Linked DNA regions of Homo sapiens: region 2 is linked to region 1. The links are contacts of gene promoters, found by promoter capture Hi-C in human tissues and cell types (Jung and others, 2019). All regions are on one chromosome and are shown on one strand. Each heading gives the region's core, a stretch centred on a gene start or on the middle of the fragment in contact. The rest is flanking DNA. Distances are from core to core; before and after follow the strand shown. Region 1 holds the start of FHL5 (four and a half LIM domains 5). Region 2 overlaps KLHL32 (kelch like family member 32).

What was found. Contacts are between HindIII fragments. The study calls those that stand out against the background at their distance.
Region 2: a fragment that was not itself captured here is called in contact with the fragment with the promoter of FHL5 in region 1 in 1 of the 25 tissues and cell types used here (mesenchymal stem cells).

The regions. Positions count from the first base shown.
Region 1 is chr6:96,561,680-96,564,757 of GRCh38, reverse strand. FHL5 (four and a half LIM domains 5) reads right to left here and starts at 1,630. Exons shown (of 6, transcript NM_001322466.2): 1 at 1,403-1,630. The HindIII fragment of the contact is 7,723 bases long and covers 1-3,078 here.
Region 2 is chr6:97,112,750-97,116,037 of GRCh38, reverse strand. It overlaps KLHL32 (kelch like family member 32), which reads right to left. Exons shown (of 11, transcript NM_052904.4): 7 at 1,529-2,255. Among named protein-coding and RNA genes, the nearest start is that of MMS22L, 170 kb to the left of the region's middle. The HindIII fragment of the contact is 6,348 bases long and covers 1-3,288 here.

The DNA.
Region 1 (3,078 bases), core at 381-2,880:
TCCCATGCGAACCCAAGTATTCAGCTTTCATTTCTAAAGAGATCATGTTCCCTCGATTGAAAAAATAAAAACAGACAAATTAAATATCTGTCTCTAAATATTCTCTAAATCTCTAAATTTTCTAAACTCTTATTTGTAATATTATAGTAGAAAAGTACCCAGTCTTATGTAAGAAACACAGATTAATTCAGCTTTACTCAAAATGTTGGTAAGTGTAATAAAAATAAGAGGTAAATTTGTCAGTGAGGTGGTGTTATATTAAAACACAAATCTACTACTCTTGCTTAGGTAGAACAGTCCCAGATTTGGCAACTAATAATAATGTGAGAATAAATAGAACAAGTGTAGAAAACAGACACTAGAGTTTACCTTCCCCTTAAAGCAATTTGGATTATGGCTTAAAGCATATATCATAACACATATGTTAAGAAATATCTTGTATGATACATATGTTTGCAATACCTATGTTAAATTTTAATCCATATGCTTTGCTAATAAAAATGCTAGTATTTACACATGATGGTATTGTGGATATAAAATGAGGGCTAAAATGGCTCAAGGATTTCCTTACATTTTATGTATGAGAGCTATGCATTTTGTTAATAATTCTTTTTAGTTTCCAATTTTCTAAAGTCTGAAATGACAGCTGAGGAGCTGCATTTGGTTTTCAAATGAATGATAGGTACCAAAGAGGATATGACTAAAATAGTGAGAGAGAAAGCATTAACACATATGGGATGTATGCTTTTTGCCTGAATAACACTACCTCTGTTTCAAGAAGTAGCACTTTAGATTGATATAGTCTATTATATATTTCTGTGGGCTGGAAACACAGATATTTTAATTTAACCTTAGAAAATTAAAGATTATGAATTTTTGTATGCCCACTTCTGGAAAGTAGGCAGATTTTTCTTGAAAATAGCAGGAATCTCATTAACTCCTTTTACTTAAAACCTGTAAGTGACTTCAAAATGTGCTCTTGAAATATAAATCTAGTCATAAAATATGCTCAGTGATAATGTTATTCATTCAAATAAATTAAGCCAAATAAAATCTCAAGAGCCCTCCTCTTCTTCCTCTTTTTACAACAATAAAGCTATACCCCACATTAAGACCATTAGAAAAACTCAAGAGGCAATTCCAAGGAGTTATCTGGCCCCTATGTTACCTCCACATGCAAGTTATAAGAATGAGAAATCTGAAAAGCTCAGCATATAAAATTTGATAACCTTTAGCTAAAATGGCTAAGAAACTTCAAAAGGCATACACTTTTGCCAAGCAAAAGTTTTCTCTTAAGTAGTTACTGGAAAGTTTATAAAAATTTCTCATCCTTAAAAAAAAATTAGAGAAGTCAAAATACCACAAAACAAAACAAAGGAAATATTTGGGGGAAAGAACTCACTTTGTCTTAAAGCCGCTTCTTCCTGTGATTTAAACAGTACGAAAGGAGAATATATGTTGATTATTTTTCCTCCAATCCACATGCATGTCAACTCCAAAAGGAACAGAAAGTCACCAGCACCATCTGAAGATCCCTTCCAACTGCATGCAGCTTTTTCAACTTTGCAGGAGAAAACAGAAGGGTCCCTGCATTTCCTCCAAGTCTTATACCGTGTACATGACTCCTACTGGGCTGAAAAAGCACTATTTGTCAATTTTTACTTAAAACTATGAGTAACAAATTCTCTGCAGGACATCCTTAAAGGGAAATTCTGCCAGGATTAGCATTCGAAGTATCTGGCTAAGCTCCAAAAAGTTTAAAATACACAATGTTCACACAGACGCATACACACTTGAGAAATTTCCACTAACTAGGCTAAATTAAGGGCATATTTATAAAAATAATACTCTAAAAGGATGATGTATTTTCTGTTTCCTCAATCTGTTTTTGGCTTTGTTTTCTTTGTTTTCTGGTGGTGATCAGAACCCTTCTTTTAGGTTAGAAATGTCTGAACCGCTGAGCTTTTCTTTTGGACATTGTCTCTTAGAATCTCCTTTTGAGGCCATCTGGAAAGGGATGAGGTCCCATGCTCTTACCTGCAAAATTATTGGTACCTTAAGAGATGGCCCCCTGGATTGTGGCCTCTATCTCTCCCTTCTTGGGAAATTGGGGAACTCTGAGACATAAGTTTGAGTAGAATACTCAAGGTAGTTCCCTGCTCTCTGGACTTGCAGTGTGGACTCAGCCTTCCCCGCTCTGCCTGCTTCCTGGTGAGCTGGCCACAATTGTGACATCACATCCATGGCTCTATGACTTCATAAAGCATAAACTCATTGAGTCTTTTGAAATCTTCAAAACACAAAAAGTGGACAGAGATGTCAAGAGTTGGATCTGAAGAAATTTTTGGATATTAAACCAATCCATAATAGGTATCCTCAGTGGGGCACACTGATTCATAAGGCAAGTGACATTTTCTCTTAGAATCTCCATTTGAGGCCATTTCTTCAGTTTGGAAGGCAGGATGAGAGAAGAAATTCTGCCTTAATCCCAGACCAAACTTAAACTGTCCTTGTTCTAACTGCTAAAGGAATGAAATGTTAATATCTTCTAAGGTCAAACTCGGGTATATACAGTCAAAGAACTTGAGCTAGAGAAATGCAGAGCCAGTTAACTGTATGTTTTGTTATTCACTTGACTTTAATGATTAAGACATTATGAAAATGAACATATGGCGACTAACAACAATAAATTTGGATTCAGCAAAAGGACACAAGTATATTTCATTAGTAATAGATTTTAATCCTTAGGACACCATTGCTAAACAGGTACTGCCTGTATTTTCCTTGTTTTATGGGCAAGGAAAGCAGTCCTTGAGATGTAAAAGTGCCTGGGACCATCACCCTCTTTATTTGCTCCCATGCTTCCTGAGAGGGTAATCTACATCCACCAAGTCATTCCAAACCTACTACATTCTGAGCCTTCTTCTCCCTCCCAACTTATTGCAATCTGTCTTTCACTTGAACCGCTCCAAAAAAGCTTCATTAAGATCATATACAACCTTGATTAGCAACCCAAAGAGTATGGTCTTCAGTCTTACCGAAAAATTCTCATCTCTGGCCATGTCTATTTCTTTCTGA
Region 2 (3,288 bases), core at 142-2,641, 550 kb before region 1:
GAGCCTGTGACTATCTTCCTGGTTATTGAGGACAGCAGAAGAACAGTCAAAGTCCAAATGAATTTAAAGAAGTGCAAGGGAGAATTTTGTCAGAGCAGGTGTTAGAACACTAGAGACGATTATTGAGGAAAGCTGAGAAGCCTTTGCAGGTGTACTTAAAAGTAATGATTTCTTCTAAGTACAAACATCAGGGTTATTCTTAATATTTAAGTTTTTTACCCTTTCTATTCCTCTTAGTGCTTGATGACACAGAAATCCAACAAGTTCCATTTGGATTACAATATGAGTATCTTCCAACTGGGAGAAAATGCAGCTTTCTTCCTGATAGAAAAACCTTTCAAAGGAGAACACTTAGGGCCTTTCTCAAAACTAAGATTGAAAACACATGTTTATAATGTGATGTTGATAGCATATGCCTCACAGACTCCTTCTGTATAAGCAAAAAGGCAGCCCAGAGGGGTGTGATGGGTCTGTGGGTGTAGAGAAAACAAGATTGGCAAGGAGTAGTTAATTGTGGATTTTGGGTTGTGGGTACATGGGGTTCATTATTCTAGTCTCCCTACTTTTTCCATAATCAAAAGGTTTTCAAAAGAGATGAAAAGGTAAACTAGAGCTCAAACTGTACCATCAGTAAAAATAGGAGAGTAAATAGGAATGAAGGGTTAGAATGGCACAAGTAACTACCATTCACGGATAATTAAAAACAAACAAACTTTGTTTTAGGCTGGGCACAGTGGCTCACGCCTGCAATCCCAACACTTTGGGAGGCCAAGACTGGTGGATTGCTTGAGCTCAGGAGTTCAAGGGCAGCCTGGGCAATGTAGTGAAACCCTGCCTTGACAAAAATTACAAAAATTAGCTGGGTGTGGTGGTGTGCTCCTGTAGTCCCAGCTATTTGGGAAGCTGAGGTGGGAGGATCACTTGAGCCTGAGAGGTGGAGGTTGCAGTGAGTCGAGATGGCACCACTGCACTCCAGCCTGGGTAACAAGAGTGAGACCCTATCTGAAACAGCAACAACAACAACTTTGTTTTGGTAACTTAAATCCCTTCTCTCAATGCACAGCATAGTGATTACTTGGATATATACCTATTGATATACCCAGAAAAATGGATTAACTGGGCTTATACTTCTCTTGCCTTGTCTTTGATGAAATGGCTCTAGTCAGGTAGCCAGGGGTGAAAGAAAAAGCAAAGGACCTAGATAAACCACAAGCTGTGCAATACAATCCATGAATAATCAAGAGCTGACAGGAGAAGTTCTGGTAGGAAAAAAACAGTTGTGATGGACCAACAATTTCCACCTTGAATTTTTATTCCATTAGTCACTCAGAAAGTCACAGAAAGGCATATTATTTCCAATTACATTGCTCTCTAGAGTAGGTGCTCAATAAATGAATGTTAATTAGCTAAAATGGCATGCTTGGTTCAATCTTTCAATTACACATGGCCACAGTATTAAAGCTTGACTTTTAAATATATACCACAATGAAAGTGTGTTTTGATAAATCCAACATGAGGTATGTTCTACCTGATATCCAAAGAAGACCATCAGCCACATATCCAGCATGGCATGAAAGGGATCTGTCAAAGGACTGAACAAAAGTCCATTTGTTCTTCTTGGGGCAATATCGCTCAACTGTAGGCAGAACCTGGCGCAGTTCATTTCTGCCCCCAACTGCATAGAGGTATTCCTCCATGGCACCCAGCACAAAATGCTCCCGGCAGTTTTTCATGGGTGCTATCTCTGCCCAGGAATTACTGCGGGGGTCATAGCGACAGGCAGTCCTCACAGCACACGTCCGGCCACTGGCATGCTCAACTTCCCCTCCTGCCACAAACAGGAAGTCCCCCATGACTGCCACACAATGGTGGCTCCTTCCCACAGGCATGGGAGCCAGCTCACTCCAGTTGGCAATGGCAGCTATGAGAGCATTCTCCTGATCAACAGGATTGAAGTACCGAAGTTCCTTGACCTTGCAGACCTCGCGCTTTTTCCCACCAATGATATACAGAGTGTCTGACTGGAATCGTGGTTTGGTCCTGCGAGTCTGCCAGACAGGCTGTGCATAGATGCTCTGGTGGTATTCCAGGGCCTCGTTGACAAGGGCTGTTGCAGTCTCACTTGCTTGGACAAGGGGGTGGGACAGGGCAACTGTATGGAGAGTATCCACATCCATTAGGCCAAAGCGGATGTATTGCAGGAGCTCGTCCATGTACTGGTAGTGGCAGTTGTGTTCCAACCACCTCACAGCTAGCTGAAACAGAGGGAAGTGAGATGAGAGGAGACACAAAGGTAAGAAAGAAAGAGAAAGCAACAGCATATAGGTAGGTTACCTGTATTCTTCCAGGCAGGTAATAATACAAACTTTCTTACAAACAGTATAACTGGAATATTTTGAAGCCCATGTGAGGAACTTTTTTTCCGTCTCAGCAAAGACACAAAAGCACTCAAGACATTGCTGTAGGGGTAAGAAACAATGTGAAGCAACACTGATGGGGGCTTCAGATACCATTTGGGGTGAACAGTAATTGATTTTCAAAGAATGAAAATGCTGTTGTGAAACAGCCTGTTCCCTTATGTTTCATGCATAAGAGGCTCAGTACACCCCACCACCAGGAAATGTCAATGGTGGGAGGTGTCATCAAAGCTCAGGTAATATATGTCAACCCATAAGCCAAGGTGCTGTATCAATATGAGTAACGTAAGAAAATATGTGATCATCTGAGACCACAGGGTGTACTTGAGAGAAAGTCAACATAACACTAGCAGAATGATTTAGAAAGAAAAAAGACTCCCCCTCCCACCCCACATCCCTTTAGTAGGTATAACAGTCAGGAAGCAAGAAAAGAAAAAATAAGATTCTAACCTATTAATTTTTTCTCTCAATTAACTTTTACCTTGAAGACAGTTGTAATTTGCACATGTAAGATACTGGAAATTTGTTAGAGTCGTTTGCACAAAAACAGAATATAGAGGAGATCATCTTTGTATTATGAACATAATAGCAGAATGTAATCCTAACCTTTTTATTCCTTTCAGATCTCTTCTAAGAAGGAAAGGAGTTATAACATTTTGATATGAGCAAAGAGAATTTCTTAAAACTAAAGCAGGTACATTGTCATACATAATAAAAATTATTGTTTAATTTTGTTATAATAATTTTATAAATAAAATTATATATTTATTATTAAATAATAAAGAATATTGTTTCATTTTGTTATTTATGATAATGTACCTGCTTTAGTTTTAAGAAATTCTCCTTTTTTTTTTTAAAATTAAAAAAATTC